6 separate regions of the Homo sapiens genome follow, and all the other regions are linked to region 5. Evidence: promoter capture Hi-C in 16 types of primary human blood cells and fetal thymus (Javierre and others, 2016). All regions are on one chromosome and are shown on one strand. Each heading gives the region's core, a stretch centred on a gene start or on the middle of the fragment in contact. The rest is flanking DNA. Distances are from core to core; before and after follow the strand shown.

The links. Contacts are between HindIII fragments. The CHiCAGO score rates a contact against its expected background, and 5 or more counts as called.
Region 1: a contact is called between a fragment that was not itself captured here and the fragment with the promoter of BIN2 in region 5, in 1 of 17 cell types (endothelial precursors). The highest score is 5.1, in endothelial precursors.
Region 2: the fragment with the promoter of TMPRSS12 here is called in contact with the fragment with the promoter of BIN2 in region 5 in 13 of 17 cell types (endothelial precursors, fetal thymus, monocytes and 10 more); the score reaches 16.3 in endothelial precursors.
Region 3: a fragment that was not itself captured here is called in contact with the fragment with the promoter of BIN2 in region 5 in 7 of 17 cell types (endothelial precursors, M0 macrophages, naive CD4 T cells and 4 more); the score reaches 6.7 in endothelial precursors.
Region 4: a contact is called between the fragment with the promoter of TMT1A here and the fragment with the promoter of BIN2 in region 5, in 9 of 17 cell types (fetal thymus, total B cells, M2 macrophages and 6 more). The highest score is 12.4, in fetal thymus.
Region 6: a fragment that was not itself captured here is called in contact with the fragment with the promoter of BIN2 in region 5 in 1 of 17 cell types (activated CD4 T cells); the score reaches 5.2 in activated CD4 T cells.

What each region holds. Positions count from the first base shown.
Region 1 is chr12:50,862,073-50,865,773 of GRCh38, reverse strand. All of the region lies in intron 3 of TMPRSS12 (transmembrane serine protease 12), which reads right to left. Among named protein-coding and RNA genes, the nearest start is that of TMPRSS12, 21 kb to the right of the region's middle. The HindIII fragment of the contact is 506 bases long and covers 1,782-2,287 here.
Region 2 is chr12:50,841,595-50,845,221 of GRCh38, reverse strand. It overlaps TMPRSS12 (transmembrane serine protease 12), which reads right to left and starts at 2,296. Exons shown (of 5, transcript NM_182559.3): 1 at 2,071-2,296; 2 at 1,185-1,380. The coding sequence starts at 2,257. It also overlaps the pseudogene RN7SL519P. The HindIII fragment of the contact is 6,106 bases long and covers 1-3,627 here.
Region 3 is chr12:51,060,776-51,064,266 of GRCh38, reverse strand. CSRNP2 (cysteine and serine rich nuclear protein 2) reads left to right here. Exons shown (of 5, transcript NM_030809.3): 5 at 1-3,062. The coding sequence ends at 521. It also overlaps a transcript of LETMD1 not described here. Among named protein-coding and RNA genes, the nearest start is that of LETMD1, 14 kb to the right of the region's middle. The HindIII fragment of the contact is 1,613 bases long and covers 771-2,383 here.
Region 4 is chr12:50,923,476-50,927,126 of GRCh38, reverse strand. It overlaps TMT1A (thiol methyltransferase 1A), which reads right to left and starts at 2,112. Exons shown (of 2, transcript NM_014033.4): 1 at 1,591-2,112. The coding sequence starts at 2,088. RefSeq lists enhancers at 1,232-1,775, 2,789-2,998. The HindIII fragment of the contact is 3,129 bases long and covers 1,025-3,651 here.
Region 5 is chr12:51,322,527-51,326,590 of GRCh38, reverse strand. It overlaps BIN2 (bridging integrator 2), which reads left to right and starts at 2,417. Exons shown (of 13, transcript NM_016293.4): 1 at 2,417-2,569. The coding sequence starts at 2,489. LOC105369767 (a long non-coding RNA gene) reads left to right here and starts at 2,583. Exons shown (of 2, transcript XR_944957.3): 1 at 2,583-2,863; 2 at 3,388-4,064. RefSeq lists a silencer at 2,182-2,671 and an enhancer at 2,702-2,891. The HindIII fragment of the contact is 11,893 bases long and covers 1-4,064 here.
Region 6 is chr12:50,815,898-50,819,498 of GRCh38, reverse strand. All of the region lies in intron 6 of ATF1 (activating transcription factor 1), which reads right to left. Among named protein-coding and RNA genes, the nearest start is that of TMPRSS12, 25 kb to the left of the region's middle. The HindIII fragment of the contact is 4,813 bases long and covers 1-3,601 here.

The sequences.
Region 1 (3,701 bases), core at 785-3,284, 460 kb after region 5:
CTAATCTGTAATTCTATTATAAAGATTTTTCTTTTATCTCTGGCTACATTTCAGATCTTCTGTTTTTTTTTTTTCTTTGTTGTTCAACTTCAGTATAATGTATGAAAGGGGATTACGTTTTGTTTTGGCTAATATTGTGCCTATTAATATTTTATCTGGATTCATGTCTTTCATCAATTTTTAAGAAATTTCAACCCAAATCCATTGAATATTGCCTCTCCTCTATCCTCTTTATTCCTTCCTCTCTGGCACTCACATTAGATGTATATTAGATTTTCTCATTCTATCCTTCTTATACCTTATTTCATGTTTTCTCTTTTTTCCCTTCGGTGCTACAGTCTAGGAAGTTCCTTCAGATATATCTTCTGGTTCACAAATCCTCTCTTCAGCTGTGTCTAATATGATATCTAGTTTATCCAATGAGTTTTGTTTTTGTTTTTTGAGACAGAGTCTTGCTCTCGTTGCCCAGGCTGGAGTGCAAAGATATGATCTTGGCTCACTGCAACCTCTGCCTCCTGGTTCAAGTGATTCTCCTGCCTCAGCCTCCCAAGTAGCTGGGATTACAGGCACCCACCACCATGCCTGGCTAATTTTTTGTATTTTTAGTGGATTGGGGGTTTCACCATGTTGGCTAGGCTGGTCTCAAACTCCTGGTCTCAGGTGATCCACCTGCCTTGGCTTCCCAAAGTGCTAGGATTACAGGCATGGGCCACCGCACCCAGCCTATCCAATGAGTTTTAAATACTAGCAATTACGTTTTTCATTTTTAAAGATTCTAGTGCCTAGTCCTTCTAAATAGTCTATTGCTGATTTTTGGCCGGGCCCTGTGGCTCATACCTGTAATCCCAGCACTTTAGGAGGCCGAGGTGGGTGGATCACGAGGTCAGGAGATCGAGACCATCCTGGCTAACACGGTGAAACCCTGTCTCTACTAAAAACACACAAAAAATTAGCTGGGTGTGGTGGTGGGCGCCTGTAGTCCCAGCTACTCAGGAGGCTGAGGCAGGAGAATGGCGTGAACCCTGGAGGTGGAGCTTGCAGTGAGCCAAGATCTCGCCACTGCACTCCAGCTGGGTGACAGAGCAAGACTCCGTCTCAAAAAAACAAAACAAAACAAAACAATAGTCTATTGCTCATTTTTAATTCTACCTTTTAGTTCTTTAAACAATTTACATATTTTTTTATTCTATACCTAAAAATATTAATATCTGAAGTCCTTGGGAGGCTTAATATGTTTGTTGTTTCTGTTGGCTTTCACTATTAATGGTTTGTTTCCTTATGTGTTTGGTGATCTTTGAACTGATATTTGGTTGATTTTAATCTGTGGGATCTTAAGTGCTTCTAAACTTTAGCCCATTGAATTAATTTCAGTTATTATATTTAATTATATTAGATATGTATGTTAAATATATTAATTATTTGTGATCTTTTTATTGTAATCCATTCGATTTCACTGCAACTTTATCTGGTTATATTCTTTGAAGCCTTAGATGAAGTTGGGTTTCTATATAAATAATTTGCATTTGATGTTGTCAGGATCAAATCTTGGGATGTTACTAAGCTAGAACCTGTTTTAAACTAAATTCTCAGCTTGAAGCTTTGTAGTCTACTCAGTGTTACTTTGGATAGCAAATCCGTGTGAGTGGTATTTATAGTTACATATTTTGGGGAGAGGGAATTTCTAGCTTTTCCCCCTTCCATTAGGCAGTTTTCCCAGTAAACATGGGGATGGCGATAGGAGGTGAGGATTTGTTGGTTATATGTGGTTCATTTAAAAAGCTTTTTATTTTAAAATAATTATGGAGTTATTGGTAGTTGCAAAGATAGCACTAAAAAGTCAAGTGTACATTTTATGCAGTTTCCTACAATGGTTACATCTCTGTCACTGAAATACAGTATCAAAATCTGGAGACTGACATTAATACAATGTGTGTGTAGATTCATGAAACCACCACAAAAAAACAGGGCATAGAGTTATTCCATCAGGACAAAAATCTCCTTCATGCTACCTAACCTTCTTAACCCTAGCAACTACTAATCTATTCTCTGTCTGCATAATTTTGTCATTTCATTGTTATATACTTGGAATCATATATGACATTTTAAAATTGGCTTCTTTTCACTCAACATAATGCCCTTGTCCATCTAACTTGTTGCATCTATCAATCGTTCATACCTTTTAACTGCTTAGTTATATTCTATGGTAAGGCTATACTAGTTTATTTAAGCATTCTCCTATTGAAGGACATTTTGGTTGTTTTTAGTTTTTGGCTTTTAAAATAAAGCTTTCATGAACATCTGTAAATAGTTTTTTTGTGTGTGGACATTTGTATTTCTCTGGGATAAATATCTAGGGGTACAATTGCTGGGTCATATGGTAAGTGTATGTTCACATGTATGTTTTTAAGAAACCATATGTCTGTTTTTTGGTGTACACACGTTTAGCATTGCTATGTCTTCTTGGTGGACTGAGGGCCTTTTATTATTATGTAATGTCTCTCACCATCCTTGTAATCTTCTCTGCTGTAAGTCTACTTTATCTGATATTTATATAGCCATTCCTACTTTCTCTTTTTTCCATTCCAGCTTCCTTTTTTTGTCTGGATACAGGGTCTTTCTCTGTTACCCAGGCTGGAGTGCAGTGGTGCTATCATAGCTCACCATAACCTCGAACTCCTGGGCTCAAGTGATCCTCCCACATAGCTGGGACTATAGACATGCACTACCATACCTGGCTAATTTTTTTAGCGACGAGGTCTCCCTATGTTGCTCAGGCTGGTCTCGAACTCCTGGCCTCAAGCAGTCCTCCCACCTCAGCCCCTCAAAGTGCTAGGATTACACGTGTAATCCAGCTTTCTTTTGATTAATGTAGCCATGTGTATTTTTCCCTCCTTTTTTTTTTAACCTACCTAGATCACATTTGAAGTATACTATATATATAAGAACAAGGCGGGTGCAGGGGCTCACGCCTGTAGTCCTAGCACTTTGGGAGGCCAAGGTGGGCAGATGACTTGAGGCCAGGAGTTTTGAGACCAGCCTGGCCAACATGGCGAAATTCCATCTCTACTAAAAATACAAAAATTAACTGGGCGTGGTGGTACACCTCTGTAATCCCAGCTACTGGAGACGCTGAGGCACAAGAATTGTTTGAATCCAGGAGGCGGAAGATGCAGTGAGCTGAGATCGCATCACCACCTTCCAGCCTGGGTGACAGAGCAAGACTCTGTCTTTAAAAAAAAAAAAATTATATGCTGGGTCATGAGTGTGACTCATTTTTAAAGTATAGCCATGGGACAGACTCCAGCTTTATGGGAGTGTCTTCCCTACTTCCCAACTTGGACAAGTTTTATTCTTTAACCATTTCCTTCCAAGGCCTATGAAACCACTGAAGTCAATATTAAAAGTTAACATTTTGGCGAATACCCTCAAGATCAAAGTCAACTTCCGTGTTCCAGTTCCCTGTCTAAGTTTCTATCGTCACACCGAGTCCTTAACCTATGTATTCTCCCTCTTTAATAGTTTTCAGTGGGGAGCTTGGTATGTACATGTAAACTACCATGTTGCTGGAGAACTAATTTAATTCTCAAAACAACTCTCTGATGGGTATCATTGCTCTCACTTTAAAGATCATGAAACTGTATGACATTGTGAAAGATGATATATTAGGCCGGGTGCACCTGGCTCACGCCTGTAATCCCAGC
Region 2 (3,627 bases), core at 1,047-3,546, 480 kb after region 5:
TGGATTTGGCATGGAAGTGGATCTTTAACAGCATTTGGCCACAAAAATCAGACTGCAGTTGGATTTTATGGGTCAATGGAGATGAAGCAAAGAGAGTCTCTTTTTCAAAGAGTCTAATAGTGAAGGCCAAATCTGGCATGTCTCTTGTTTTCATACAGTCCATAAAGCATGTTTTTTACATTAACAATTTTTTTAAATATAGAGACAGGGTCTCGCTATATTTCCCAGGCTGGTCTCAAACTCCTGGCCTCAAGTGATCCTCCCGTCTTGGCTTCCCAAAGCATTGGGATAACAAATATGAGCCAACATGCCCTACTCTACATTTTTAAATGGCTGAATCAACCACAATATTTCATGACACGTTAAACATATGAAATTCAGATTTCAGTGTTCATAAAGTTTTATTGGATTATAGCCACACTCATTCAATTACTTATTTTCAGTGCTGGTTTTCATGCAATTGTGAGAGAGACCATATGACCTTCAAAGTGTAAAATATTTACTACCTTTATAGGAAGTTTACCAGCCTCTAATTTAAAAGATCCATGATCGAGCATGGTGGCTTACACCTGTAATCCCAGAACTTTGGGAGGCTGAGGCGGGCAGATCACGTGAGGTTAAGAGTTCAAGACCAGCCTGGCCAACATGGTGAAACCCCCTTTTCTACTAAAAATACAAAAATTAGCTGGACATGATGGCAGGCATCTGTAATTCCAGCTACTCCGGGGGCTGAGGCAGAAGAATCGCATGAACCCAGGAGGCGGAGGTTGCAGTGAGCCAAGATTGCACCACTGCACTCCAGCCTGGGTAACAGAGTGACACTCCATTTCAAAAAAAAAAAAGTAAAAAATAAAGGATTCCTGGGTAGGGGGCTAGGGGAGGGATAGCATTAAGAGAAATACCTAATGTAGTTAGATGATGGGTTGATGGGTGCAGCAAACCACCATGGACATGTATACCTATGTAACAAACCTGCACGTTCTGCACATGTACCCCAGAACTTAAAGTATAATAATAATAATAATAAATAAAGGATTCCTTTCAACAAATACACTGTACTATATATAAGGCATTATGGCTATTTGCAAACATAGCTTAGCTGAAAATGGCTGAAGTTAAATGGTCCTCTATCACTTCAAAATATCCCCTAAGAGCATAAAAATAGTTGTGTTCTGAATACGTACCTAGCGTCTTTAGTGCAGTGGGCAGCTGTGAGGACCCACCTCTCTCTCACTAGGGTTCCCCCACATACATGAACAAGAACACGGCCATATTTAATCTGCAGGCTCACCACCCACGGCCATGCGCCAGCTTGTGCTTCGGTGCCCCCTATAATCCGAGACCCTTGCAACACATCCTTAAGCGGTGCTGTTCCACAATCTAAAAATAAAAATGATATATTATTTGGACTGAGCATCTATAGTATGTGTTACTTCCTAAGCTGAACATATTAATGCAATCCTTTAAATTCCTATGTTAAAAACACAAAGCAAGCTAACATACCGGAGACACGCCCATATTTTGAAAGAAACTTGGAGAGTTAAGACAAATATGCCATAATCGATTACTTACAAATAGACATGAAGTCAACACAATTCATTAATTTTAAAACTCTATTCCCCAAAAATATAAAAATAAAAATTTTTGGCCACGTATCACATTCTTCCCTGTGTGAAATAGCAGTTAAAGAGCCTGGGAACGGTGAGTCGAGAGCCGCAAATTCTAATGCTCACCATTTCACTTGTTGGGCTAATTTTTCTCAACTATAGTATGAAATGGTCACCTAATAGCCCTCCCTTTCAACTCTTTATCCCCTGACTTATTAATCTATAAAATGGGGATGATAAAACCCAGAATGTTTTGAGGAGAAAATACAGATTCACAATACAAATGTGTCATTTCACTATTACAACTACTGTTATTACAGCCGGTCTAGAAACTGCTTAGGTATGTAAAATTTTGGTTAAAGGCCATTGGGACAACAGAAAAGGAGAAACCCGAATTCAAAGACTATAGCGGTGGGGAAAAGGTAAGAGAGGCTCCCCAGAGACAGGCACGAACAGGTACTGCCCTCTGCATGCGCCCCTCCCTCCCTCCGCCGCCGGAGCCTCTTGCGGACGGCCTCAGCCTGCTGGGAACTAGCCGCCGGTTCCGGCGAGGGGCCGAGCCTGTGCCTTCCAGAGGGCGAGTAGTGGTCTGAGTATAAGTGAGAGCTCCCCACAAACAACAGCGCCACGCTCAGGAGCCCCAGCCGCATTTTGGAGGCTGGTGAGCAAGATGGCGGCAGGTACTTCCCACCCGCCCTGGGCACGCGGGGCGCACGGCCTGGCGGGGAGGCGCGAGTGAGGCCCGGAGGTGTGGGAGGCGGCCGAGGAATAGGTAGGTCAGTTTAGAAAGAACCCCTCACCCTCAAGGTCTGATCGGCTTCCTCATCCACCACTATCCCCCAGGTGATGTCTGATCACCCTGGCCTGTCCAGCAAGAATCCTGTTAGGTCGGTTAGCCGGAATGCCATTACTCCTGATGCTACCTCTTAGTAATTTTCCATCCACTGACACGTCTCTCCTGCTCCGTGGCTGTAAATTCTCCCTTGGCTCTGCTCTGTTTGGATTTTAGCCCAGTCCCTCTACCCATTACAAAATCCCATTGCCATGGTCCCTATCCCTATCTGGATGGTCCTGAATAAAGTCTGCCTTGCTGTGCTTTAATGAGTATCACTGAATAATTTTTCTTTAACATAACCCAGAGTTTTTAAGAGTGATACCTAATGTTCAGTTTTAAATTGTTCTGTCATTCCTATCTTGACCTATACTGAACTTTGCCTTTGTTAACCCAACACCTTCAGTAATAAGAAGACCGTGTGGGCTGTGGGAAGTTGGTGAGGTGGTGGAGAGTTAACGTAGAGGTCAATAAAAGGACAGTTGCCTTGCTCATACCATCCTTCCGAGGCTGGTGCAGTTGGCAGCATTAGATAAAAGGAGTATATGAGTTTGGGGCTTACACATGGTAACATGTGGGGAAGGGAGCAGAGTCTCAGAGCTGTGCCGAAATTGGGGTGGAGGAGGTGATATTGGAGAAACAAATTGCAGCATGAGCTGATCTCTGAGGGCTGACAAGAAACAAAGTCCTTATTCCCCAGATATTTTAGTGGAAGGTGATATTAGGAGGAGAAAAACACAGTTGGGGTGTGTGTATTTCTGTGTGTGTGAGATGTGGTCAGATTGTGTATGCCTTTGTAAACAAGGCAAGATGACTTTTTTTTTCTTTTTTTAAACCCATAGCCAACGTGATAAGGATGACGGGTCTTGCTATGACAGATAGTAGAGGTTTAACATACTCATAAAGCAAGTATATGCAGCCAAGTCATCAAATAGCAGTGACACAGGCAGTGGGCTGGGCACGGTGGCACATGCCTGTAGTTCTATTATACAGCACTGCTTTAAACAATATATTTTTTAGTTTTACTACTCAGGAGGCTGAGGCAGGAGGATTGCTTGAGCCCAGGAGTTCTGGACTGTAGTATGCTATGTCAACTGGTCAACTAAGTTTGGCATCAATATGGTGACCTTCGGGTAGTGGGGAACCACCAGGTTGCCTAAGGAGGGGTAACTGGCCCAGACTGGAAAT
Region 3 (3,491 bases), core at 328-2,827, 260 kb after region 5:
TGTGCCCAGGCCTTACAGCCCCCATTCTCATCCAGGCTCAGCTGCCCCCAGGCTCCTCTGTCCTGTGTTTTACCGAGAACTCAGACCACCCAACTGCCTCAACGGTGAACAGCCCATCCTACTTGAACAGTGGGCCCCTGGTCTATTATCAAGTGGAGCAGAGGCCAGTCTTGGGAGTGAAAGGAGAGCCTGGTACGGAAGAAGGCTCAGCCTCTTTCCCAAAGGAGAAGGATCTGAATGTCTTCTCTCTCCCTGTTACCTCACTCGTGGCTTGTAGCTCCACAGACCCAGCTGCCCTCTGTAAATCAGAGGTGGGGAAAACACCCACCCTAGAAGCTCTATTGCCCGAAGATTGTAACCCTGAGGAGCCTGAAAATGAAGACTTCCACCCTTCCTGGTCCCCCTCAAGCCTCCCCTTCCGCACGGACAATGAAGAGGGCTGTGGGATGGTGAAGACCTCCCAGCAGAATGAGGATCGGCCCCCTGAAGATTCTTCCTTAGAACTCCCTCTGGCAGTGTGACAGGCGCTAGAGGTCCTGCCTCTTACCCATTCTCTATTTATTCCCTTATTTTATCTAACACCATTTCAAAACAAAACTGTAGAAGCAGCTGCTGCTCCCATGTTATTTTATTGGGGTCTTTGGGGAATGGGTGGGAAAGGATTGTTTGAGTATTTTTTAAAAGGGAAACAGTACCAAGGAGACCAGCCCTACCTTGATCTGGGGATAGTCTTGGGGCAAAGAAAGCTGCGTAGTGCTGAACATTAAGCTTTCTGGGCCACTGGAACAAAGAACTAGGATCTCACAGGAAAAGCTGGGTAACTCAAGCAGCTATTCTTTCTGTAGGGACCAGAACACGAGAATTTGAAGAGCATGGCAAAGCCCTTTCTCTCCCAAGCCCCAGGCAGAGTACAAGCTCATTTTTCTCGGTGGTTATTCTGATATCCCATTTTGGTGTGTCATAATACTTCAAACTGGAAAGTCACCTGGTCGAGTCTAGGGAGGAGGGAGTGGAAGGGTCTCTGCTTCTGTACAAAATCTCCAGGATTTACAAAAATGTAACCTGCCTTCCTTCAATCCCATATTTGGTAAATAAGTTAATATTTGACATGTTTGGTGTTCTCTGACCTGTTCCCCACACTGGGGATTCCTGGTCTGTAACTTGAATTGTTTCTTCCACATGTTCTTAAGTACTAGAGTTAAACTTGTCTATGTGTCTTTTTTCTCTCCATCCTTTTTCCTTCGGAGAAAGAGCTGGATTGGCTGGGGATATGGTATAACGAGCCTGAGCCTTCTGTACGTGTCTGACACTAGCACTGTCAGGCAGCTTTCGGCTGGGGCTCACCCATCCCATAGGAGGCCTATGTGGAGCATTAACTGTGGCCAAAGGAGGCAGCGGGAACAGGCTGCTTGCTATCTGGAAAGATGACATATTTGTGCCATGCTTGTTTTTTCACCCAGGTTTTTCCCTCTTTGTGAGATCTGAGCTTTAGTGGAATGTAGAATGTGGCAATCTTAAGGTCACCAATCAGTTTTTGTTCTTTTTTCCTGGATCTACCCTCATGGTCGTTTTCAACATAGCGGGTTAGAGTTCTTATACTGTTCCAGTTCAATTCCAAGAATTGCAAATGTTTATTGGACCCCTCCATCTTGATGATATATAAAAATTGGAAGCCAAACCAGTTCTTAAATGCTACATGCAACTCCCAGATTCCAAAGGATTCAAGTTCTAATTATAACCTTTGAAGCGTATAGAATGGAACTCATTCAGTTTGATTCAGTTCTTACCTCTGTCAGGAGGAATACAGTTCCTGTTCATCCTGTGTTCTAAGATCTCCATTGAACAGCACTGATTTCCTTTCATTAGCAAAGTGATCTTTGTCTCTGTTCTAAAATGGAGGCAGTAGGGAGCAAAACTATTCTTCTCAAGCATCCTTTACACCATACTTTACTTCTGGTATGGTTTATTAACCACACACACACACAAAAGTGAAAAACTGTGTTGGGGGGGAGACACTACTCCTACTTATCTTGCTCATAAAGCCTTTTCTGGTGGGATATTAAGGCCCTGGTGTCTTACAGAAACCATCACGTATGTCGCAGCAGCATTTCACCCCTGAAGTCTCTAAACTCTGAGCCTGAAAAGATTTGTATTTAATACACATAACATTTTTTAGTTCATTCTGCCTTTCCTATTTGTTCCAGTTTTTGCTTGGTTTTAGTTTGGAGGGGAACTTAAGTACACAGATCCTTATCTCTCCCCATCCCCTAGCCTCACAAAACACAGTTGAGAGTCTTTTAAGTACCTGAGCTCTCGAAGCTACCCAGAACTGAACTAGACTCCCCTACCTTAGACTGGTACCCTCAAACACAGGACTGAAGCTTAATTGGGAATTTGGCTTTATGGAGAAAAGAATCTTTTTCAAAGTTTGTGTCGGAAGGGGAGGGTGAGGTTTGCCCACTGTCTCTGCAGGAAGGCTCCGGCTTAATCTAGGAAGTAGATTCCAGCTGCACGATGAGGAACACATTAGCTTTTGGGATCAAACCAGGAATATGAATCTGTAATTATTAAGCTCATTGCCAACCCACAAGATATGTTTCTGAAAACCTGTAGTTTCTTAATTTAAGTCCATCCCCTTCATTAACGCTACAGTTGTGACTCACACTGATCCCAAACTTTTAAGTGCTAAATATTAACATTTAGCATTAACTGTCTTGTCAAGCGAAAGGCCTTCTCTACAACCTAGTCCATCTCACTTCTGGTGCTACCTGAGTTGGACAGAATTCTAGCTCATGGTTGCTAGGAAAGCTAGGCCTCTGATCATAGAAGCAGATAGCTTCAGTCCCAGTCTAGGCCTAGATAAATGACTCTTATTACCACAACCCTTATTATTTTCCAATTTCCTTTCTCACATACTGTACACAGGTAGTATTTTCAATGTGAATCCAAAGCTTGTCTGGTTCTCTGAAAATAATTTTTTCCCCTTTAGGTTCTTTACATTGTGATAATGCTGTATTTAAAGAGAATATTTAAATGTAATATTAAAGAAATATTCAAAAGAATGATGTGTTACTCTTTGTCTCGGCAGGCCACAGTTCAGTTACTTGTTAGAAAAAGGATGCTTCTCTAGCTTCGTTATAAAACTAATTAGGTCAGTTAGGAATTAATGTTAACAATAGAAACATTTTGTGATGGAAAAATAGAATATTCTCTTTGGAGTACCAAGAGCTGGACTTGGTTCATATGCCCTTGTGTACCTGTTCAGCTGAAGCAGGCCTTGCTCCTGCTCTGTTGGAGCTTAGCCCTGTCCCTACTCTGGGCTCCCATTTTCTCATTCCATTAACTTTTTTTTTTTTTTTTTTTTTGAGACAGAATCTCATTCTGTCGCCCAGACTGGAGTGCAGTGTCGTAATCTCGGCTCACTGCAAGCTCCGCCTCCCGGGTTCACGCCATTCTCCTGCCTCAGCCTCCTGAGTAGCTGGGACTACAGG
Region 4 (3,651 bases), core at 863-3,362, 400 kb after region 5:
GATTGCTTGAGTCCAGCAGGTCAAGGCTGCAGTGAGCTGTGATCATGCCACTGCACTCCAGCCTGGGTGACAGAGGGAAACCCTGTCTCAACAAAAAATGAAAACTGGGGATTACAAAACATGCCTTTCCCCCAGAAGAGTAAATTCAAATGTTAAGATATCCATATCTTCAACTTTGTTCAGAATATAAAACGATTTTAAACTAGCTAAAAATAATAAGGGTAATATGTGAAAACTACATACAGGTATAAAGAATTACAGACTTTACGGAAAGGTTTAAAATGAAAAGTAATTCTTTCCCTGAATCCAATCCCATTCCCCAAAGGCAACCACTGTTAATAGTTACTTGTCTGTCATTCCCATTAACTTATACACATATATGTATCTCCTCTCCCTGCCTCACACAATGGGCATGTGGTGGGCCTACGCTCTACCTAACATTCTGTGGCTTGATTGCTTTTTGTTTTCATTAAACATTATCCCTTGGGGATTTTTAAGTATCAGCACAGATAACTCTTCTTGTTCTTTCTGACAGCTGCACAGTGTTCCTTTATACAATATGACAACTCACTTACATAGCATCCTATTGATAGACATTTCAGTTATTTCCAGTTTGTGCAATTACAAATTCTACTTAATATTCTTGTGTATGGACAAGTTTTTGCATGTGGATAAAAGAGTATGTGTGGTTTAAATTTTGATATTATCAGATACCACCCAAAGAGGGTACCTCTTCTAATGTGTATGGTGGTGTCCAGTCCCCTAAACCCACCCCAACCCTATACTGACCTTAAAAGAAGTCCCTAACAGTATAATAGGTAAAATTAGTATCTCCTTTAATTAACTCTTTAAGTTTGAGCACTTTTGTCCTATAATTGGTTTACATTTCTGTTCCTGTTATTTGCCCATTTTCCCTTTTGTTTTTCTTATTGAAAAATATTGATCTTATTGACATGTAATGTCTTTTAACATGAGGGAAGTTAACCCTTTGTCTATCATCCCTGGCAAATATTTTTTCCAAGCTTGTTTTGTAGTTTAACTTTGTTTTGGGGAGTTTTTTTTTCTTATTCTTTTTTTTCTTTCTTTCTTTTTTTTTTTTTTTTTTTTTTTGAGATGGAGTTTCACTCTGTTGCCTAGGCTGGAGTGCTGTGGTGCAATCTTGGCTCACTTTAACCTCTGCCCCACCAGGTTCAAGCGATTCTCCTGCCTACAGGCACCTGCCACCATGCCTGGCTAATTTTTGTATTTTTAATAGAGATGGGGTTTCACCATATTGGTCAGTCTGGTCTCGAACTCCTGACCTCAAGCGATCTGCCTGCCTTGGCCTCCCAAAATGCTGGGATTACAGACGTGAACCACTGTGCCCGGCCAGGAGGTTTTTTCTTTATAGCAGTTTTAAGTTTTTATATTCAGATTTATCAATCTTTCTCTTTATAGCTTCTCTCCCACGCTAAAATTTTAAAAAATTCTACAGTATTTTCTAGTAGTTTACTTTTTATGTTAAAATGTTTCAGCCACCTGAAATTGACAGGCCTGCCCTCTATGATAATAGCTGCTACTAACTAGTCCTCCTCACACCCTTTCACTCACCGGTCTCAGCACTCTGCACACCTCGCGGAGAATCCGCTCCTGGTTCTTCACAGAGCACAGCACCAGGGTGCAGACCACCACATCCACAGAGCCATCAGCCACCTGGTGCATGTTCTCCCCGGCAGCTACCACAAAGCGCTCAAACTGCAGGTGTCGGTTCTCTGCAATGCTCTTGATCAAAAACTTCTCAAAGTTGGGGTTGGGGTCAATACAGGTCACCCTGCACCCAGGTGGGTAGAACTTGAAGTTGGCCCCCGTGCCACAGCCCACTTCCAGCAGGGAGAGTTTCCCGGAGGGGCCCGCAAACTCCTGCAGGTTACTGAAGAGCTCCCGCTTCTTGCTTGCCATCTGTTCGTTGTATATCACAGTGAACCTCACCAAGAAGTAGGGGAACCATTTTTTGCATATCCAGCTCCACAAGCCCAGAAAGTTCAGCAGGTACAAGGGAAATGTCAGGATGTAAATGGCCAGTCTCAGGATAAAGATGGTAAGCTCCATTGCTCAGAAGGGAAAAAAACAGATCAACAGTTAGAGACCCGACTCCTTTAATTGCAGGAGAGAGGCTTCTGGCCACACTCCAGAGCCAATCAGCTGCAGAGGAGAAAAAGAACTGGCTGTGCTGGAAAGTCAAATCATGGGCAAGAGGCCAATTTTGCCTAATAGATGTTTGGCAGCAGTCGATTCAGCTTAGTTTTCATAAGGCAAAATGAGAAGGTTCCCAGCTTTTCCTCAGAAGGAAAGTGGATTATAATCCTTTATTCCTAATCGATTCCTGTTTCCCCTTCTCTGGGTTTGGAGACAGCTGCTAGCTTCCTGCTAGAGTTTTATAAGCGCAGTGTACTTACACCCCACCGGGCTCTCCAGTGACCTCTAAAAGAAAACAGAATTCGTGGGTGGAGCCTGGTCAAACCACACCAGAAGAGTGCTGCCAAGGCCCCTTTATCATAACACATCCCCCTTACTTCCCCCGCCCAAACCCTGTTTTTTTTTTTTTTTTTTTTTTTTTTAAAAAAAAAAAAAGGAAGTGAAAGGACATGCATGCCCGGCCACAGTCAGCAAGAATTCTCTCTTTTACATTCTGGGCAGAGGCTCTCAGTGTTCACAACTCAACGTTTTTGTAAACCAAAAATAATGTTCTAAGGCCTCTAACCATCTGAATGGACTTTCTCCTTGGCCAGGGCGCTTTTAAAATTTAACTTGAGAGATTGTTTCAGGCCATGAGGGGAAGTGGGGGTCAGATATGCCTCATTATACCTCAAGCCGGCATTCACATCAACGCAGACCTTAAGTACATTTACAATCTATTCTCTCTGAAGCCTGCTACTTGGAGGCTTCATCTGCATAATAAAACTTCAGTCTCCACAACTCTTATTGCAACCCAGACATTTCCTTTCTATTGATCCCAGGTCTTTAGATAAACTCAACCAATTGTCAACCAGAAAAATTTAAAACGTACCTATAACCTGGAAGCTCCCTGCCTCGCGTCGGGTTGTCCTGCCTTTCTGGACTGAACCAATGTATTTCTTAAATGTATTTGATTGAAGCCTCATGTCTCCCTAAAATGTAGAAAACCAAGCTGTACCCTGACCACCTTGGGCACATGTTCTCAGGATTTCCCGAGGGCTGTGTCACAGGACATGGTCACTCATATTTGGCTCAGAATAAATCTCTTTAAATATTTTACAGAATTTGACTCTTTTTGTTGATATTTTAAAATCACTGTTTTGGGCTGTACTTCCCCTTTTAAAACAATTTTTGGCTCAAGGAAGTCAGTTTGTGGGCTGCCCTTCTTTTAAAGGACAAGCCTCAGTCTTCAAAATGTGCCTAACTACTCGATTACTCAGCTAATTTGGATAAAAATATTTCCCAGAATATTCACATTTGGGAGCCAAAGGGATTCAGAAAATAGTTTCAAGCATCCATCCGCTTTTTACAAGAAAGCCCGAATCTGGGCACAGTGGTGGGTGCCCATGGTCTCAGCTACTGAGGAGCTAAGACAGAAGCATACCTTGAGCCCAGGAATTCAAATCCTGTCTGGGCAACATAGTGAGACTCTATCTC
Region 5 (4,064 bases), core at 1,168-3,667:
AAGGGTTGTTTCTTCTCTAACACTACATGATTTGGTGACCATCAATTTCAGTTTGCAAGATATTGGCACTAAACAGAGTTTCTTAGGAGACAGTGGCTGGGTTGCATTGCTGAGGATGCCATGTAGTCCTGGCAGGGACACAGGTACTGGCCTCCTTCTGCCAGTGACACACCTGTTAGCATTGCCATCTACTCTCAGTGTTCCCGCAGTACTGCTATTCTCCATGCTTCTCCCCACTTCTCCCCATCCAATATCAAGTCCTTCTATTTTCATCACCCTGCCTCTTCCAGGGCATCACCAAAGCTAACATCCAGAATAAACCCTAATCGCCTGGCAGGGCAAGGTGGTTCACACCTGTAATCCCAGCCCTTTGGGAGGCTGAGGCGGGTGGATTGCTTGAGCTCAAGAGTTCCAGATCAGCCTGGGTAGCCAGGAGTGGTGGCATGCACGCACCTTAGTCCCAGCTACTCAGGAGGCTGAGGTGAGACCATCACTTGGGCCTGGGAGGTAGAGGCTGCAGTGAGCCCTGATGGCACTGCTGCACTCCAGCCTGGCAACAAAGCAAGACCCTGTCTCCAAACAAACAAACAAACAAACAAACCCTAATCACCTATTCCCAGAAAATTTTGTATCCATCTCTACAAATAAATTAAGCACATTACATTAGAATCACCTGATTACCCACCTATCTCCACTTCCAGACTTTAAGCATCTTTATTTATGTACTTATTTATTAATACTTATTCTTTATTGGTTGAGAAAGGGCCTCACGCTTTGCCCAGGCTGGAATGCAGTGGCACCATCAGGGCTCACTGCAGCCTCCACCTCCCTTGGCTCGGGTGATCCTCCCACCTCAGCCTCCCTGATAGCTGGGACTACAGGTGTGTGCCACCACGCCCAATTAATTTTTGTATTTTTAGCAGAGAGAAGGTCTTGCTATGTTGCGCAGGCTAGTCTCAAACTCCTGGGCTCAAGCAATCTGCCTGCCTCAGCCTCCTAAAGTGTTGGGATTACAGGTGTGAGCCGTGGTGCCCGGCCAGACTTCATTAAGCATCTTAAGGTCAGGGACTGCATTTTATTCATCCTTGTTTCAGAACACCCAGCAATGCCTGGTACACAGTTGACCTTGAGTGCAGTAATGATTGTTTTGGAGAAAGAAGAGGAACACAGTAGCATACAAGGGCCTCTAATTTTGTGTCAGGCCCTATCTTCCCCCTCCACTCCTTAGGAAGTGTTATTTTGACCTTCTTCCCTGCCTTGAGGAAATTTTAACCTGCACTGTAAAATCTGAGTACGTGGTTCCTCCACACCTAGTGTCCTAATCTCAAGCTATCCCCTCAAACAGGTCAGGGAGGAATTTTTTGGAGAACTTCTCCCTAAAGAAACAATAGTTGTCATCTCAACAGCCGCACCCCAATTTGCACAATCTGTGTCTGTGTTCACATTCTGCCTCCATCCAGTACACTGTACTCCAACTAGAAAAACTTGCTCCTCATGCTCAGCACGGGCGTCCATACTATCCTCCTCAGCCTTTTTTCAATGTGATCATTCTCTTGCCTAAGAACCAGCCCCCTACCCTGTTTCTATCTCCAGCTTAGTTGTTCCTCATTTATTTATTTATTTATTTATTTATTTATTTATTTATTTGAGACGAACTGTCGCTCTGTCGCCCAGGCTGGAATGCAGTGGCGCGATTTCGGCTCACTGCAACCTCTGCCTCCCGGGTTCAAACAATTCTCCTGCGTCATCCTCTCGAGTAGCTGGGACTGCAGGCGTGCGCCACCACACCCAGCTAATTTTTGTATTTTTAGTAGCGACGCGGTTTCACCGTATTGGTCAGGCTGATCTCCTAACCTCAGGCGATCCACCCGCCTCGGCCTCCCAAAGTGCTAGGATTACAGGCGTGAGCCACCGCGCCCGGCCTGTTTCTCTCTTTCAAGCCCGGCTCGGGTGTCCTGCCTGCTTTCTGCACTCTATCCCTACCAGTTCCAGGCTTAGAGCCTACCTGGAGCAAGAAACGCAGTGTACATGGCGGCTTCGCATGCATACTCAGAGAACCTAAACGTGTTTTCGATATGGTAGGTCCTCTCGCTGAGTGGAACCCACATCATTTTCTACCCTGCGGTGGCAGTTGCTTTGCAGTGCTCAGCGTGATGGGAACTGGCTTTCCGGAGCGAGTGAGTGTGGGCCCACCACTGAGGACCTGGTTCAGTGAGGCCGAGGTTTCGGGCAGGGGTTGGAGCTCGGAAGCTGGCCTCGAGCGAGCGCTGCCTGAGGGTAGGCCCCGGGCCCGCCCCTCCGAGCCGGCCTGCTCCAGCTGACAGTGGTGGGCTGAGGGGCGGGCCTCAGGGCTGGCCAGGGGCGGCCTGAGGTGGCTCAGGGCTGGGGCCGGATGCGAGGCATGCCGGGAGCCCGCACTTCCTCCTCGGGGGCCTCAGAAAACCACAGGGCGCGGGGCCAGGGCGGCGGCCCCCAGGGAGTTGGCAGGATGGCAGAGGGCAAGGCAGGCGGCGCGGCCGGCCTCTTCGCCAAGCAGGTGCAGAAGAAGTTTAGCAGGGCCCAGGAGAAGGTAGGTGGCCGGGCCTCGCTGTCTGTCTGGCCCACAGGGAGCCGAGGCCGAGGCCGAGCCCGGCCGGGCAGGAGGGGCGGGCAGGGTGCTCAGGGGCCCCGAAGGGTCTGGGCTGACGAGAAGGGTCTCCCGCTCTCCCAGGGAAACGGGAGCGAGGAGTGGGCTTCCATGAAAACTGGCAGATTGGAGAGAGGTCGGAGACCGCCACCCGATCTTGGGCAAGGATAAGGGAAGCTGGGGAGACAACAGTCTCTGGGCAGAACCTTCGACAACCCTCAGGCTGACCCAGAAAAGGTGAAAGAAAGGAAGTGATGGTGGTGGCCACCTTTGTATCAAATTTTGTGCTAGCAATCCAAAATTGGTATTTTACAGATGATGAAATTGGAGGGTAATTTTCCATAGAGGGCAATTTCCCCAAAAACAGCGATGCAGCGGATGCCAGCAGGCACCCCCCACCAAAGGCTTAGAATAATCCTGCATAGTTCTCCCCCTACCTGACCCTGCCTGGCCTCTGGGTGGTGTTTCAGCTGACGTAAGCAGGAGCCCAAATCTGCTTCTTCTACCCTCCCTTTGGCGTTGGGGAGTACACCTCCCAGGGTGATGAACCACATCTGTGTTCAGAGTGTGTCCTTGGTTAGTGTCAGGTAGCCCTGCTCCAGCACTGGCACTTAGGTGGGCTGCCCATCTATTACTTGCTTGGCAATCTAAATTGTGGGGACATTCTCTACACATTTTGATGGCATTTTTGTTTCTACCTGTACAGAATATTTTCTTTGCTTCTAACCTGAGCCTCTGCTCTCCACCTACCAACCCTCTAGTAGACAAGGCGGTTTGGGAAGACATGTCAGCCAGAAGAAAGAGCGAGGGAAGAAAGACAAGAAGGACCTGAGATAGAGTTTCGGTTTTCCTTTTTTTCTCTCTCTCTTTATTAAGCCCAACCTGCCTTCTACAACGGAGAAGTTTTGGTTTTCTAAGAGCTGATGGACTTAGAAGCATTTGGATGAACAGCTCTGCTTACCAACTGAAATATCCCTATTATCTTCTAAAAGTGGAGCACTGCTTTGAGCCCTGGGAAGGCTTAAAGGCAACCAGCTCTCCCGAGTTGATTTATCAGCAGAAAACTGATGGAATGTAGATGTAGCTCCTGACTTTAAGAGACCACAATGGAAGGGAGGTTATTTTCTATCATTTGAGGTCATGTGAAAGAGAGGAGGAAAAGGGAAAGAGTTCGTGTAGCCAGACTTCGTTACTTCACTTACCCTAACTTCACCTTGATCCTAGTTTCAGCCTCTCTGAAGACTTACAAATCTGGTAGACCCGAGAGCAGGGCCTATGGGAAGGTCTAGCTCGAAACAGTGTGGGCGAGCAGGAGGTACTGGAGAGAAGGCCACACTGTGGTTGAAAAAAAAAAAAACCCTAAAAGACAAAACACTCATGAATGATAGTAATTTTAAAAAGACATACCAGCCAGGCACAGTGGCTCACTCCTGTAATC
Region 6 (3,601 bases), core at 788-3,287, 510 kb after region 5:
TAAGTGTAGAATTCAGTCAGTTTTGGCAATTGTGTATACCTGTATAACCCACACCTCTGTCAAGACAACAGAACATTCCCACTGTCCCAGAAAGTTCCCTCATGCCCCTTCCTGGTCAGCCCCCTTCCAAGCAACTATCGTTTTGATTTTTATCACCAGAGATTAGTTTTTTTCCTATTCTAGAACCTCATGTAAGAGTGTCATACACTATGTACTCTGGTGTCCCTTCACTCAGCCCATCTGAGGTTCATCCATGTTGCTGCATGGGGGTTTGTTCCTTCACACTGCTGGACATAGTTCACTGTATGAATATAACCACCATTTGTGTATCCAGTCTCTTGCGATGTTTCTAGGGTTAGCTGCATAGGCATGTTTTTGTGCCAGTCTTTTTGTAGAAAGGTTTCATTTCTCTTGAATAAATACCAAAGAGTGAAATTATGGGTCCTCTGGTTAACTTCTGACACATGACTTCTTTTATTTAAGTTCAAATTACAAACAATGCTTGAGCAAATACTCAGTTCTGTGCATGTCCTCTTAAAACATTTCTGTGAAGTCATATGTAAGTTTATATACATATAGAAATCGGAAGTATTGGCCAGGCATGGTGGCTCATGCCTGTAATCCCAGCACTTTAAGAGGCCAAGGCGGGCAGATCACCTGAGGTCAGGAGTTCGAGACCAGCCTGGCCAACATGGCAAAACCTCATCTCTACTAAAAATACAAAAATTAGCTGTGGTGGCACATGCCTGTAATCCCAGCTACTTGGGAGTCTGACCCAGGAGGATCACTTGAAGCTGGGAGGTGGAGGTTGCAGTGAGCCAAGATCGCGCCACTGCACTCCACCCTGGGCAACAGAGCAAGACTCTGTCTCAGAAAAAGAAAGAAAGAAAGAAACAGTACTATTTTAAGATTTTTATGCTATATATGTAGATACTATTTGCAACTTGCTTTTTAGTACACATCTTTAAAAGGACTGTACAAAATCTTTCCCCTCACAAAAAGACTTTATTTTTACCTTTAAGCTCTGTTTGTTTGTTTGTTTTAAGTGGTTTCCAGTAAACATTCTTTTTCTTTTTTCTTCTTTTGTTTTGAGACAGGGTCTCACTCTGTCAACCAGGCTGAGTGCAGTGGCACAATCACAGCTCATTGCAACCTTGACCTCCTGGACTCAAGATATCCCCACTTCAGCCTCTCAAGTAGCTGGGACTACAGGTGTACACCACCACACCAGCTAATTTTATTTTTGTAGAGATGAGGTCTCAGTATGTTGCCTAGGCTGGTCTCACTCCTGGTCACGGTGTCGGGATTATGGGCATGAGCCACCCACTCAGCCTCCATTCTTTACGTGTATTTCTACACATGTATTTCTTGAAGGATCACAAGCTATATTCACTTAAAGTCAAGAGATAGTGCCAATTTATATTCATTGAAGTACAGAGAAATAAGGGGGGAAAAAAGGAAGGAAAAAAATCCCAGAGTCAAACCAGAAAGAAAAAAGGGAAAAAATGCCAGAATGTCCTCCAGAGTATTTGTACCATTTACATTCCCAGGGGCAGTACATGAGAGTGCCTGTTATGAACATTTTAAAATGGTTGTCAGTCTAGCGGCTGACAAAAAGCGAACCTCACTGCTTTAACATTTCCCTCATTATGCACAAAGTTTGGAATAATTTCATGTTTACAAGGCCATCTTTCACAGACCGGTTTCCTTCTGTTAGGTCTCTTATTTACAGAAATAAATCTTTATATAACCTATACATCTCGTAATTCTTTCTCTTTATATAAAAGTTGCAAATATTTTTCCCAGTTAACAGACTTATTTTTAAGTTTCTTTATGGTATCTTTTGTCACATACAAGTAGAAATGTTGGGGCAAGTAGATACCATAAAACTCCGTACTTCCCTCAGTAATGTATGTGAGGTACCCTTTTCCTTATATGCCCAATGACAGACAGTATTACCACTTTATAATTTTTGCTACGTGACATCTCATTTCTTATTTTTATAGTTGTAGTATATACGTATATGACCCTAAAACTGCTATCATTTATTTTCTAAAATTATAAAATATCATACTTTGTGTATTCTGTTGCAACTTGTTTTTTCATTCAATTTTTCTAAGATTTATTCATGTTGAAATGATTATTCATTCAGTCATTACAAATAAACATTCCATTCTATAAATACAGTCACAATTTATGTACCTATTCTTTTTTCCCCCCATTTTTATGTTTAGGCTCAATATGTACCTATTCTGTTATCAATGAATCTTGAGGTTGTTTCCTGATTTTTTGCTGCTATGAAAATTCTTATACATACTTCCTCCAAGTTCCTCTCAGTCACACAGACTAAAACAGCTGGGTCACAGAGTATACCCACGTCAACTGTACAAGATAAGGCCTAATTTCCAAAATGGCTGCATCAATTTACACTCCTATAGTAGTATCTATGAATTCCTGACCATTGTTCCAAATCCTTGCCAACTCTTGGTTAGACTTTAAAATTTTTGCCAATTGGGTGGGTATAAAGGGTATCTAAATGTGTAGCATTAATGTGTATTTCTTTGATTACTAATAAGGCTGAGTAGTCTTTTATATGATTATTAACTACTTGTGTGTTTTTTTTTGTTTGTTTTATTTTTGAGACAAGAGTCTTGCTCTGTTGCCCAGGCTGAAGTACAATGGCGTGATCATGGCTCACTGCAACCTCTGCCTCCAGGTTCAAGTGATTCTCCTGCCTCTACCACATCTAGCTAATGTTTTAAATTTTTTTTAGAGATGGGGTCTCCCTATATTGCCCAGGCTGGTCTCAAACTCCTGGGCTCAAGTGATCCTCCTGCCTTGGCCTCCGAAAATGCTGGGATTACACGTGTGAGCCACCACGCCTGGCCTGTATGGTTTTTTCCATTAAAATGTTTCTGTGCATATTTATGGAGCACATGAGAAAATCTGTTACATGTATATAATGTGTAGCGATCAAGTCAGGGGATTCAGGGTGTCCATCACCTGAGTATTAATAGGTTTTTGTTAAGGGTGGTCATCCTACTCTGCTATGAAACACTGAATTTATTCCTTTTATCTTACTGTGTATGGGTTTGTACCCTTTAACTCTCTTCATCCTCCTCCTTGCCCCTCACCGTTCCCAGTCTCTGTTACCTATTTTTCCATTCTCTCTTTTTTCTTGAGATAGGGTCTTGCTCTGTTGCCCAGGCTGAAGTGCAGTGGTGCGATCATGCTGCCTCAACCCCCTGGGCTCAAGCAATCCTCCCACCTCAGCCTCCCGAGTAGCTGGGATTTTAGGCACACGCCACCATGCCTGGCTAATTTTTTATCTTTTGTAGCAATGGGTATGTTGCCCAGGCTTGCATTGAACTCCTAGGCTCAAGTGATCCTCCCGCCTCGGCCTCCCAAAGTGCTGGGATTACAGGCATAAGCCACCACGCCCAGCCCTATTTTTCCACTCTCTACTTCCATGTGTTCAAATATTTTAGCTCCCACATATAAGTGAGAATGTGATATTTTTTCTTTTTGTGCCTGGCTTATTTCACTTAAGATACTGACCTTCAATTCCATCCATGTTGCTGCAAATGACATGATTTAATTC